Linked DNA regions of Homo sapiens: region 1 is linked to region 2. Evidence: promoter capture Hi-C in 16 types of primary human blood cells and fetal thymus (Javierre and others, 2016). All regions are on one chromosome and are shown on one strand. The core of a region is centred on a gene start or on the middle of the fragment in contact, and the rest is flanking DNA. Distances in the headings are between cores, read along the strand shown. Region 1 overlaps LSM12 (LSM12 homolog). Region 2 holds the start of ASB16-AS1 (ASB16 antisense RNA 1).

What was found. Contacts are between HindIII fragments. The CHiCAGO score rates a contact against its expected background, and 5 or more counts as called.
Region 1: a fragment that was not itself captured here is called in contact with the fragment with the promoter of ASB16-AS1 in region 2 in 1 of 17 cell types (erythroblasts); the score reaches 5.6 in erythroblasts.

What each region holds. Positions count from the first base shown.
Region 1 is chr17:44,043,215-44,050,548 of GRCh38, forward strand. All of the region lies in intron 2 of LSM12 (LSM12 homolog), which reads right to left. Among named protein-coding and RNA genes, the nearest start is that of LSM12, 20 kb to the right of the region's middle. The HindIII fragment of the contact is 3,208 bases long and covers 806-4,013 here.
Region 2 is chr17:44,182,152-44,188,781 of GRCh38, forward strand. It overlaps ASB16-AS1 (ASB16 antisense RNA 1), which reads right to left and starts at 4,566. Exons shown (of 3, transcript NR_049730.1): 1 at 4,414-4,566. It overlaps TMUB2 (transmembrane and ubiquitin like domain containing 2), which reads left to right and starts at 4,821. Exons shown (of 4, transcript NM_001076674.3): 1 at 4,821-4,958; 2 at 5,525-5,592. The coding sequence starts at 5,558. RefSeq lists an enhancer at 4,145-4,679. The HindIII fragment of the contact is 11,845 bases long and covers 156-6,630 here.

The DNA of each region.
Region 1 (7,334 bases), core at 1,160-3,659, 140 kb before region 2:
TCCCCGGGTAAGAGAGGGAAGAATGGCAAAACCCTGCAGTGATCTGAAGCCAGAGCTCCTTTTTCACAGGATCTCTAGGACATGGAGAGAGACAAATACAGCAGCAATATATATATAATCTTTCAAGACTGGCTGCCATTCTGGCCCTACCAGGCTATAACTTTACAGACAAATAAACACACAGGCTGACAGCATTCCAAGCAGTGGCAATCCCAACTGTAACAAGAAAGCCTTGTAGTTTCTATGGAAAGAGCTGCTGATGATGTATTTTAAGCAGCAACAAGCAACGCTTACTCAAGCACCAAAAAAACCCCGGTAACAAGGAGGAGTTTCCTTTTTTTTTTTTTTTTTGAGATGGAGTCTTGCTCTGTGGCCCAGGCTGGTGCAGTGGTGCAATCTCAGCTCACTGCAACCTAAGGAGGAGTTTCCTTGAATCTTGCTTTCCAAACAATGCCTTAAGAAAATCTGAAGTCGGCCAGCGCTGTGGCTCACGCCTGTAATCCCAGCATTTTGGGAGGCTGAGGGAGGAAGATCACTTGAGCCCAGTAGTTACAGACCAGCCTGGGCAACATAGTGGGACCCTGCCTCTATTAAAAAAAAAAAAAAAAATCTGAAGTCTTTAAGGAAAGAAGGAAAAACTGGAGGGTGGCAGAGCTCCTGGGAAGCATCTAGTGGACAGGCGGGCATTTACCTTATAAGCAGGCTGGAAGATCTCACTTTGAAACCTCAATCCCCTTTAAAAACGTTTATTCCTGAAAATCCAAATCATCTCCGAATGCTGGGTCAGAGAAAGCTGCTTCTATAAAGCTTGTGTTGACTAGATAGTCTGAACGTTCAAAGAGTAAAATGTCGTTGTCACCTACATAGCAGCTTAAAAACATAACATCACCCCATTTAGTAAGAGACAAGAGTTGGCTCAGGAAACCAGGCATCTATGCAGAATGTTTAAGAATGGAACTGACAAATTAAGCTAGAGAAGGGGAGAAAAAAAAGCTGGAAGAAGAGCCACTTGAATTTTTGCCAGAGAGAAAATAAAATGGATATAAATCTCAGCCAGAAGTGATTCTTTAGACAGGCTGAGTAACAATGACACACTGGTTATAGAACAATGATTTCAAAATACACCCCCCACCCCCGCCAAAATACCAGTTGTGCAAGTGCAATCTCCCCTAAAGTCTCCAAAAGCAAAGGAGAATGGACTAGACAATTCTCTATTTCAATTCTAATGCAAACATCCCAAATGCTAAATGATGTAAGGGAGCACTTAGAAAAGTCAGCAGAAATGACTGTAAGCTGACTGTATATATTTTCAGTTTGCCCCCAATATACTCAACCTACAGTAATGCTTTAGGGATCCGGACTCAGCTACACAGATCTGCTTTTACCAGGAAGCTGTACAAATGGGATAAAATCTCCTAGAGAGGACCCCATCAATTAGGGGTCCCCATCAATGGGGGAGACCGCTCTCAATAAAAGAAACTAGAAGTGTTTCCTTTTTTCAAAATTGAGGGTGGGGAGAAGGAGATTACCTTGCCCTTTTTTGTCATGAAAACTCATGCAGAACATGAATATGCCTTCTTTTGTAAAGCAAACGATTATCACTCTACCCTCAATTTAGCTGCTGTACAAATCTAAATTTTCCCACATATTTTTGCAAATGACTATATACCTATAAATGGCCCAATTATTCCAAGTTAGTAAGTTTATGGTTTTTGCCAAACCACTGGAGAGAACCAATAAAAGCTGCCCTCAGTAGAGAAAGTGTAGAATGTGCCTTTTAGGCTTGGGAGGGCCACCAAGATTACTTTTTAAAATCTATTTCTTTTTTTTTGAGACAAAGTCTTGCTCTGTCGCCCAGGCTGGAGTGCAGTGGTGCGATCTCAGCTCACTGCAACCTCCGCCTCCCAGGTTCAAGGGATTCTCCTGCCTCAGCCTCCCAAGTAGCTGGGATTACAGGTGCCCACCACCACGCCTGGCTAATTTTTGTATTTTTAGTAGAGACAGGGGTTCACCATGTTGGTCAGGCTGGTCTCGAACTCCTGACCTCGTGATCTGCCCGCCTCAGCCTCCCAAAGTGCTGGGATTACAAGCGTAAGCCACCATGCCTGGCCTTAAATCTATTTCTATAGTTTTTCCTTTACTAGATATTTCATATAAATGGAATGATACAATGTGTTGACTTACGTCTCTGGCTTCTTCCACTTAGCACATTTCTGAGGTTCATCCATTTTGTTTCATGTACCAATAGTTTTTTAAATTGCTAGGAAGCATTCCACTATGAGGATACAGTTCTACCTTTTATATATTCATTCACTAGTTGATGGACAGTTGATCAAAATCTGAATTGTTTCCAGTTTTGTTTTTTGTGTTTTCTGAAACAGAGTCTCACTCTATCACCCAGGCTGGAATGTAATGGCACAATCTCAGCCCACTGCAACCTCCACCCACTGGGCTCAAGCAATCCTCCCACTTCAGCTTCCCAAGTAGCTGGGACCACAGAAGCACACCACCACGCCCAGCTAAGGTGTTGTATTTTTTTGTAGAGACAGGGTTTCACCGTATTGCCCAGGATAGTCTTGAACTCCTGAGCTCAAACGATCCACCCACCTTGGCCTCCTAAGGTGCTGGGATTACAGGCATGAGCCACCCTACCCGGCTGTTTCCAGTTTTTGGCAGCAGTCACACACAAGTCTTTGTGTATGTAAAAGTAAAAATATTTTACTTTTTTTTTTTTTTTTTTGAGACGGAGTCTCGCTCTGTCTCCCAGGTTGGAGTGCAGTGGCGCGATCTTGGCTCACTGCAAGCTCCGCCTCCTGGGTTCACGCCATTCTCCTGCCTCAGCCTCCCGAGTAGCTGGGACTACAGGCGCCCGCCACCACGCCCGGATAATTTTTGTATTTTTAGTAGAGACAGGGTTTCACCCTGTTAGCCAGGATGGTCTTGATCTCCTGACCTCATGATCCGCCCGCCTCGGCCTCCCAAAGTGCTGGGATTACAGGTGTGAGTCACCATGCCCAGCCAACGTTTTACTTTTTAAAAGTAAAAAGATTTTGCTTTTTAAAAGTAAAAAGTCTCTGTGTGTGGACATGTTTTTACTTTTGTTAGGTAGATAACTAAGAGTAGAATTTCTGGGTCATATGGTAAGTGTATGTTTAATTTTTAAAGTAATTGTTTTCCTGCTAGTGAAGTTTCCTTAAAAACAAAACAAAATGGCCGGGTGCAGTGGCTCACGCCTGCAATCCCAGCACTTTGGGAGGCCGAGGCGGATGGATCACGGGGTCAGGAGATCGAGACCATCCTGGCTAACACGGTGAAACCCCGTCTCTACTAAAAATGCAAAAAATCAGCCGGGGATGGTGGCGGGCGCCTGTAGTCCTAGCTACTCGGGAGGCTGAGGCAGGAGAAAGGCGTGAACTCAGGAGGCGGAGCTTGCAGTGAGCTGAGATTAATGCGCCACTGCACTCCAGCCTGGGCAACAGAGCCAGACTCCGTCTCAAAAAAAAAAAAAAAAAAGGAACTGTCAAACTGTTTTCTTTTTTTTTTTCTTTTTTTTTTTTTTTTGCTGGAGTGCAATGGCGCGATCTTGGCTCACTGCAACCTCCGCCTCTGGGGTTCAAGTGATTCTCCTGCCTCAGTCTCCCGAGTAGCTGGGATTACAGGCGCCCGCCACCACGCCTGGCTAATTTTTTGTATTTTTAGTAGAGATGGGGTTTCACTATGTTGGCCAGGCTGGTCTCGAACTCCTGACCTCGTGATCCACCCGCCTCGACCTCCCAAAGTGCTGGGATTACAGGCGTAAGCCACAGCGCCCGGCCCTAATGTTTGATAGTTCTAAATCTGCCACCTACTCACCAACACTGGGTACTGTTAGCCTTTCTGATCTCAGCCATTTTAGCAGAAGTATAGCAGTTTCACACTGTGGTTTTCACTTGTACTTCCCTTTATGTCTAATGATATCAAGCATCTTATGTGCTTATTTGTAATTACTGTATCTTCTCTGATACAGTATTCAAAGCTTTTGCCCATTTTTAATTGGACTGTCTTTTTTTTGAGATGGAGTCTTGCTCTGTCACCCAGACTGGAGTGCAGTGGCACCATCTCAGCTCACCACAACCTCTGCCTCCCAGGTTCAAGCAATTCTCCTGCCTCAGCCTCCAGAGTAGCTAGGACTACAGGCCCACACCACCACGCCCAGCTAATTTTTGTATTTTTAGTAAAGACAGGGTTTCACCACGTTGGCCAGGCTGGTCTCAAACTCCTGACCTCAGGTGATTCACCTGCCTCGGCCTCCCAAAGTGCTGGGATTACAGGCATGAGCCACCATGCCCAGCCTGGATTGTCTTATTATCATTATTATTTTCTTTTTTGAGATAGGTCTTGCTCTGTTGCCCAGGCTGGAGTGTACTGGCATAATCATGGCTCACTGCAGCCTTGACCTCCTTGGCTAAAGCAATCCTCCCACCTCAGCCTCCCAAGCATCTGGAACCACAAGCAAGGACCACTATGCCTGGCAGGTTTGTTTGTTCTGTTTTTTTTTTTTTAATTTTATGTAGCGATGGGGTCTCCCTGTGTTCCCTAGGCTAGTCTCAAACTCCTGATCTCAAATCATCCTCCCACCTCAGCCTCCCAAAGTGCTGGAATTACAAGCATAAACCACCAAGCCCGGGCTGCCTTATTAAGAGTTCTTGGCTGGGCGTGGTCACTCACACCTGTAATCCTAGCACTTTGGGAGGCTGAGGAAGGCCGATCACTTGAGCCAGGGGTTCAAGACCAGTGTGGACAACATAGACAGTGTCCGTATTAAACACACACACACACACACACACACACACACACACACACACACACACGCAAATAAAAAGAGTTCTTTATACATTCTGGACACAAGTGCTCTGTAAGATGTATGTTTTGCAAATTATTTCTCCCAGTCTATGGCTTGTCTTTTCATTTTCTTTATGCAGCAAAACATAGAAAAATTTTTTCCAGGCCAAGAGCAGTGGCTCATGCTTGTAATCCCAGCACTTTGGGAGGCCAAGGCAGGCAGATCACTTGAGCCCAGGAGTTCGAAACCAGCCTGGTCAACATAGCGAAACCCCATCTCTACAAAAATTACAAAAATTAGCCGGGCACAGTAACATGCACCTGTAGTCCCATCTACTTGGGAGGCTGAGGCAGAGGAATTGCTTGAACCCGGGAGGCGGAGGTTTCAGTTAGCCGAGCTTGCACCACTGCACTCTAGCCTGGGTGACAGAGAGAGACTCCATCTCAAAAAAAAAAAAAAAAAAAGTAACCATAAAAATTCAATGACTATCACCCATACTACACCCATTTTCAATGCAAACATGCTAGCTGCTGGCCTCACTACCAATCAGTTAGAAGCACTAACTGGTTAGCATCTCAAAGAATAAAAAGCACCAAGTTTAAGAACACACTGGGTTCAGGCAAACCAAGAAGCATAAACTTACAAATATTTGTTATTAATGTGCATATGGCTTACTTGAAATCACTGCACATGACAATCTGTGCTTACCTGGCTCTCCTTTCATTCTGCATGATTCCCAGTGAAAACACAGTCCTTGTATACTAACCAGTGTTTCCTCCTGTGCCCGTTTTATATATAGCACCTTGATGTGGGCAAAGGAGAAAAGTATATGCATTCGATATCAAAGCACATCAATATTAAAAGGCTTCTAGGCCAGGCACAGTGGCTCATTCCTATAATCCCAGCACTTTGGGAGGCCAAGGCAGGAAGATCACTTGAGGCCAGGAGTTCAGACTAGCCTGGCCAACATTGTGAAACCCTGTCTCTACTGAAAATACAAAAATTAGCACCGGGCATGGTGGTGTGCACCTGTAGTCCCAGCTACTTGGGAGGCTGAGGCAGGACAATCACTTGAACCCGGGAGACGGAGGCTGCAGTGAGCTGAGCTTGTGCCACTGCACTCCAGCCTGTGTGACAGAGACTCTGTCTTTAAAAAACAACAACAACAACAACAAAAACAAAACGAACAAAAAAAACCGGCTTCTAATCATGCCTGATGCTGGGTAACCCTTATTTTTGTTTGTTTGTTTTTGTTTTTAAGAGACAGGGTCTCACTCTTCTGCCCAGGCTGGAGTGCAGTGCCATGATCCTACACAATGCAGTCACAAACTCCTGGGCTCAAGCGATCTTCCCACCTCAGCCTACAGAGTAGCTGAGACTATAGGTGTGCGCCACCACACCCAGCTACTTTTTTTTATTTTTGTAGAGATGGGGTCTTGCTATATTGCCCAGGCTGGCCTTGAACTTCTGGCCTCCAGCAATCCTCCCGCCTCAGCCTCCCAAAGTGCTGGGATTAAATGCATGAGCCACTGCGTCCCACAAGTGAGTGATTTAATGAACACCAAGGACACATATCTTGTCTGCACGCAGTGACATGGAAGGAAAAGGGAGGAGCCAAAAGAACAAAATCCAAGCAATATGCACTTCATCTTGTTATTCAGTCACCAGCTGGGCCATCTTATTTCCACATGCCCAGACCAGGAAGGCACAGGTGCCGTGGGGAATCCAGAGGGATTCCTACTACAAGTATTTAACAGGCTGAGACAGCTGATACAACAAGGGAAACAGAGAAGCCAGAGAGGAGCCTGCTGGGTGTGACCTACTGACTCCAATGAGCCACTCTCAGTTTGCCTTCTCTGTGTATTTGGGTCTTCCAACCAGCTGCCCTCACAGAGGGCTTAGGAAACACTGCAGCTGCTGCCCGGAACTGCTTATGACGCCTGCAAGCCTGGTGGGTGTCAAGGGATGGCAGACCAGAGTGGCAAAGAACTGTCATCGTAAGGGCCCTTGCATGTTCCCTATGTTTTGAATCTGGGGTAGGCTCTTGGAAAGCCTTCATTCTTTTTATTTTTATTTTTTTGAGATGGAGTTTCTCTCTTGTTGCCCAGGCTGGAGTGCAATGGCACGATCTCAGCTCAATGCAACCTCCACCTCCTGGGTTCAAGCGATTCTCCTGCCTCAGCCTCCCAAGTAGCTGGGGTTACAGACATGTGGACACCATGCCCGGCTAATTTTTGTATTTTTTTTTTTTTTAGTAGAGACGGGGTTTTGCCATGTTGACCAGGCTGGTCTCGAACTCCTGACCTCAGGTAATCCACCTGCCTCAGCCTCCCAAAGTGTTGGGGTTACAGGCATGCGCCACCGCACCCAGACAAAGCCTTTATTCTTAGCTAGCAACAAATAGGCTCTCAAAAATATATCTTCTGAATATCAGCATCCCCAGGGCAACTGTTCCCTAGCTGAAAGCTTGTGCCTGAACATTTTTTTTTTTTTTGAGATGGAGTCTCGCTCT
Region 2 (6,630 bases), core at 3,316-5,815:
ATCTATGTGCTCCCTCCGTCCCCAAGTGATGAATGGTGTCTTAAACAGTGGTCACCACATACAGTCTCTGAGGGCCCAGCCACCAACTGCCCGAATTCCCCAACTTCTTCCTCTTGTCCCAGAGTCAAAAGTACCACAATACAGCTTTTGGAGGAAGCTTTTCAAAGCAAGCCAGTTTTTATGAGTGCAAATAAATGATTAGTCCATGGAACCAAAGTATGGATGTTGTTTGACTTAAATGGGACAGAGGTCCCCATCATTCCATGTTCATTCCCCACCCCCTGGTGCTGTTCTGTGGTTTCCAAGTTTTCTGCATTGAGCAACTGTTACAAGAACAACACAAGGGCCAGGTGCCGTGTAGTCCCACCTACAAGGGAGGCTGAGGCAGGAGGATCACTGGACCCCAGGAGTTTGAGACCAGTCTGGGCAAGAGTGAGACACTGTCCCTAAAACAATTTTTTTTTGAGACAGGGGCTCTCTGTGTTGCCTAGGTTGGAGTGTGGTGGCGCGATCACTGCTCATAGCAGCCTCAACCTTCCACACTCAAGCAATACTCCTCCCAAGTAGGTGGTACTACAGGCATGCACCACAACGGGTCTCACTATGTTGCTGAGGCTGGGGAAAAAAAAAGGCCAGGCACGGTGGCTCATGCCTGTAATCCCAGCACTTTGGGAGGCCAAGGGGGGCAGATCACTTGAGTCCTAGAGTTTGAGACCAGCCTGGGCAACATAACAAGATCCTGTCTCTAGAAATTAAAAAAAAAGAAAACACAAAATACTTAGCCAGGCGTGCTGGTGCATATGATGGTTCCAGCTACTCAGGAGGCTGAGGTGGTGGGAGGATCGCTTGAGTCCAGCAAGCAGAGGTCGCAGAGAGCTGAGGTCACAGCAAGCTGAGATTGTGCCACTGCACTCCAGCCTGGGCGACAGAGTGAGACCCCGTCTCAAAAAAAAATAAAAAAATGAATAAAAATAACAGAAACACAAAGCCTCTCATAGACCCAGAACCTATAGTACCTATCACAGGAGGGAACTGGGGAGGAGCTCCCAGCAGTCTTCTCCTGAGTCAGCAGTCTTTTTGCTGAGGGATCCTAGGGTCTCCAGTCCCAATACCAGTTGGAGTTATACAGTGGAGACAGGGATCCAAAGTCCTGGGGTCTGCCTCCTGCTGCAGCTGCCCAACTTTCCCTCCTCCAGGAGAGTTATATCTTTGGGATTCCATTTCATCAACACAAAGACAGTTTTTTCACCTTGTTATGCAGAATGCAACACCCCCTTTCTGGATGAAAATTTGTGCTTTAGTTTTACAGAGCCAAAAGGCCTGACAGAAGAAAAAGAACTCCTCCCTAGAGAGGGAGGCTGGGAGCCTCACTCTCAGGGGCAATGCTGAACTTTCTACCCCTTTACAGCACGCCGACCACAGCCAGCTCAGCCTTTTCTGATATATTTACAACTACAAAAGATACCGTTAAAAAAGAAAAATACCTGGGTGCAGTGGCTTACGCCTGTAATCCCAGCACTTGGGGAGGCCGAGGCGGGTGGATCGCCTGAGGTCAGGAGTTCAAGACCAGCCTGGCTGACATTGTGAAACCCTTTCTCTACTAAAAATACAAAAAGTAGGCCAGGCGCGATAGCTCACGCCTATAATCCCAGCACTTTCGGAGGCCGAGGCAGGCAGATCACCTGAGGCCAGGAGTTCGAGACCAGCCTGGCCAACATGGTGAAACCCTTCCCTACTAAAAATACAAAAATTAGCCAGGTGTGGTGGCACACACATATACTCCCAGCTATTCAGTAGGTTGAGGCAGGAGAATCACTTGAACCTGGGAGGCGGAAGTTGCAGTGAGCTGAGATCTCCCACTGCACTCCAGCCTGGGTGACAGCAAAACTCGTCTCCAAAAAAAAAAAAAAAAAAATCAGGATACAAGGCCAGGTGTGCAAATCCTGTTGGTGGACAAATCGCCTCTTTGGGGGCAATTTGGCCACTTCCTTAAACACTGTTCCCAGTTACACAAAAGGCAGGCTACATACAGGAATATTCCTCTCAGCGTTGCTTGCAACAACTCATGTTGGAGTGGTTAGACAAATCCATATTACCCATGGCAGGAAAGAACTAGGGAGGGATTCCAAGTGACCAGCATGTGTACTGCCTTGGGAAGATCTCCCAGAGTGGTTTTTATTGATTGATTGAAACGGGGTCTTTCTGTATGCCAGGCTGGAGTGCAGTGACGCAATCACAGCTCACTGTAGCCTTGACCTCCTAGGCTCCAATGATTCTCCCACCTCAGCCTCCCAAGTAGCTGGGACTACAGGCACACACCGCCAGGCCTGGCTAATTTTTAAATTTTTTGTAGCGACAGGGTCTCGCAATGTTGCCCATGCTGGTTTCAAACTCCTGGACTCAAGTGATCCTCCCACCTTAGCCTCCCCAAGTGCTGCAATTACACTCTAGAGCCACCATGCTCAGCTGAAGACAATTATTTTCCTTTACATTTTTTTTTATTTTGAGACGGAGTCTCACTCTGTCTCCCAGGTTGGAGCATAGTGGCGCGATCACAGCTCTCTGCAATCTTGACCCTAGGGTCAAGCAATCATCCCACCTCAGCCTCCTGAGTAGCTGGCTCATGGCTCACTGCAGCCTTAACCTCCTAGGGTCAATCATCCCACTTCAGCCTCCTGAGTAGCTGGGACCACAGGCACACGCCACCATGCCCAGCTAATTAATTTTTTTTTAGAGATGGGGGTCTCACCATATTGCCCAGGCTGGTCTTGAACTCCTGGCTCAAGGGATCCTCCTGCCTCAGCCTCCCAAAGTGCTGGGATTACAAGTATGAGCCACTGTGCCCGGCTTTGTGAATGTACTTAATGCCACTGAATTGCAAACTTAAAAATAGTTAAAATGGTTTTAAGTTTTATGTTACGTATATGTATATATTTATCTTTAGAGATAGAGGTCTCCCTGTGTTGCCCAGGCTGGCCTTTAACTCCTGGGCTCAAGTGACACTGCTGAGTCAGCCTTCAGAGTAGCTGGGACTACAGGTGCATGCCACTGTGCCTAGCTATGTTTATTTTACCACAATGAAAGGACTTACAAAAAAGAAGCTAGACACCGAAGAGGATACACAGTTGGATTCCATTTATAGCAAGTACAAAAACAGGAAAAACTAATGTATGGTGACAGACGTCAGAATAGTGATTACTCTTTGGAGGTTAATGGCTAGAAGAAGACATGAAGGGGGAGATTCTGGGGTAATTCTTTCTTTTTTTTTTTTTTCCTGAGACAGAGTCTCGCTCTGTCACCCCAGCTGGCGTGCAGTGGCTCCATCTCAGCTCACTGCAACCTCCGCCTCCCAGGTTCAAGCCATTCTCCTGCCTCAGCCTTCTGAGTAGCCAGGATTACAGGCGTGCGCCACCACGCCCGGCTAATTTTTGTATTTTTAGTAGAGACGGGATTTCACCATGTTACCCAGGCTGGTCTTGAACTCCTGACCTTGTGATCCGCCTGCCTTAGCCTCCTAACGTGTTGGGATTACAGGCGTGAGCCACCGCGCCAGTCCTAATTATCTATTTCTTGATCTAAGTGCTACTTCTGCCAGTGTTCAGTTGGTAGAAGCCACCGAGCTTTTTGCTTATGTTTGCCCCTGTCTGGATTATTTATCCTTTAATCAGTAGTTCTCCAAAACCCCAAACTCCAGCGCTTTTTTTTTTTTTTTTGGAGACAAGGCCTCCCTGTCGGGTGCAATGCAGTGGCTCAGATCATAGCTCACTGCAGCCTCGAACTCCTGAGCTCAAGCGATCCTCCCACCTCTGCCTCCCAAAGCGGTGGGATTACAAGAGTAAGCCACTCCCCCCGGCCACAGTAAGTTTTTAGAAAAAATTTTAATTGCGGCCGAGCGCGGTAGCTCACGCCTGTAATGCCAGCACTTTGGGAGGCCGAGACGGGGGCGGATCACCTGAGGTCGGGAGTTCGAGACCAGCCTGACCAACATGGAGAAACCCTGTCTCTACTAAAATACAAAATTAGCGGGGCGTGGTGGCGCATGCCTGTAATCCCAGCTACTCGGCAGGCTGAGGCAAAAGAATCGCTTGAACCCGGGGGGGCGGAGGTTGCAGTGAGCCGAGATCGCGCCATTGCACTCCAGCCTGGGCAACAAGAGCGGAACTCCCGTCTCAAAAAAGAAAAAATTTTAACTGCAAAAATCTGGATAAGTTCTTGAAAGCTGGACTTTTCCCCCTTTTTGTGTCCTAAGCCTGCGCCGAATCTGTGCCTTCTTTGAAATGCTTTCCCGCCTTCTTTCTCCGGGTCCCACACTACCTGGGGCCGCACTCTTCAAGCACTGGATGCTGACTAACTGGTCTCCTTATCTGTCTTCCCGACTGGCCCAGAGCTGAGTTCTTACTAATCCCCGCTAACCTGGAGTTAGGTGCGCGTTGCAAAGCAGTAACGAATCCAATCAGCCGGGGAGGCAGACAGCAGGGCCGGAAGAACAAAGCTGGAAAGGGAAACGTCGCACCGGCTCTGCCCAGCGGCGCCAGCCCGGGCAACCTTCCGCAGTCGCGAAGCCACGCCCCTTTCCCAAGTACCTCCGCGCTAACTCCTCCCCCCTGGCCCCGCCTCTCACCCTGGATTGCCTAAGGCCCCGCCCACCAGGCGTGGCCCCGCTCTGGGAGGGCCGCAATCCCGCCAACAATGACTCCACCCCTCCTTCCGCTGAGAAACCTGTCCCTTTTATTTAAAGAATACCTTTTACGTCAGCCCGTCTTACGCAGCTTCGCGTCATCAGTGCAAGGCGCGGAGGCGGGACTTCCTGTCCCTGGTATAACAGCTTCCGGGAGAAGCCGGAAGAGACCGGACCCTGAACAGAATCGCAGATTGCCAGCCCTTTTCCCGACCCCTACGGAAAGACGAGTCCAGGGGCCGTCCTGGCGAGGTCAAAACATTTAGTCTGGTCTTTTCAGGTGAGGACTTCCCCATCCAGGCACAGTGCCGGTCCAATCCCCCTTTAATTTCCCATGACTCCTCGCGTCCTGAAGCCCCGCCCCCAGTTCCCCAGCCCCGCCCCGAAGTTTGAGGGGTGTGGACGGTTTGTGACCCCCTTAGCCGACCCTACTCCTCACTGGCCGGGACAACTGGTCTTATCACGGAGGCTGGGGCCAGGCAGCCCTTCGGTTCGGGTGGGCCCATGGACCCCAGTCCAACGCCGAGGGAATAGGACCATCCAAAAGCGGAACCTTCGCCTCAGAAAAAGGGTGCGGGACCCCTCCTCACCGTGCGGTCACGGTACGGACAGGGTAGATCACAGGCTGAGGGACAGAGCAAAGACCCCTGAGGCCGGACACCTGGGGTCCTGCCGGGCCCCTCCCCACGAGAGTTCCCTGTGTCTGTGCCAATCGTTTTCGTCTTTCTTTGCCGCAGTTTCTTTTCCTGTAAATCATGGTTAATAACATTAACCTTCTTACCATCAGGGGTTAGTTGTGGTTGTGATAAATAATTACTACCGTTATTAAGCAATTGCAATTTGCAGTGTGCCAGGCACTGTGCCAAGTATTTTGCTTCGATGATTTCACGTCATCTTCAAAACAACCTCATGAGGTAGGTACTGTTTTTAACCCCATTTTACTGATGAGAAAGCTGAGGCTCTGAGAAAGTTGTCTGAGGTGTTATAGCTAGTAAGACGCAAGACTGGGGTTATAATTAGTTGTTTTTCTAACTCCAGGGCCGGTATATTAAATAAGGATGTTGATGTGTTCCACAGATAATTCTTTGAGCAACTACTGGGGCATTATATTGGACACTTCAGTACCAAGAGAAATACATACGATCCTTGTCTACCAGGAGTCTAATAGAAAGATGGACAGGTACATAAGTATAATGAAGTTTTATAGGTGCTGTGAGAATAGTCTGATAATGGTAATCACCAGACTGGATTTGCCCAGGGACAGCTGTGAAAGCAGCAGATTCTCCAAGGGAAATAGTAGGTACTCCAAGGAGCAAGCAGGGACCCTTCCTGCCTTTCTAAGAAACTGCAGCAGCAGAACCTTCACAGTGAAAGAAGAGAGACTGAGATATGGATTGTGAGAGCTGTTATGGAATCTTTTTCAAATCACTCCACTTGGGGAGTGGTCATTGCAGGAGTGGGCCCATGGTGACCCAGGAAGGTGGTGCTTCTGGTGTCTGTCCCAAGTTGCTCCCCAGGGCTTGCCAGAAGTTTCAGAGGCGGCACATAATGTCTGCTGCATAGTATCTGCCCGCGGTCCCTACAGAGTTATCGTTTTAGATTTGTCTGACTCTGCTTTTGATGGTAGGTCAGTTTTCTTTGGCTCTTGACATCTGGCAGCCTGGATCTGTGACCAGGAATGAAATAGGCTCAAATGAGACAATCTGGCAGGGATGGCTAAACAGTGCTTCCAGGGGGGCCCCACAGTAAAATATTCCAGGCTTTTGGGTCTCTCTGAAGCCACTTTGGAGGCTGCTTAGGAGGCATATTTGCTTGACCAAGCGATAGAAATCCTAGAGAAACTCAGGCCTCAGCAAAGATTTTTCCTCATTCACCAAAAAAGCAACAACAGTAGCAGCAGCAGCAAGGCTGTGGGCTTTTCCTGCTGATCCACACTCATTGGGAAGTTGGAG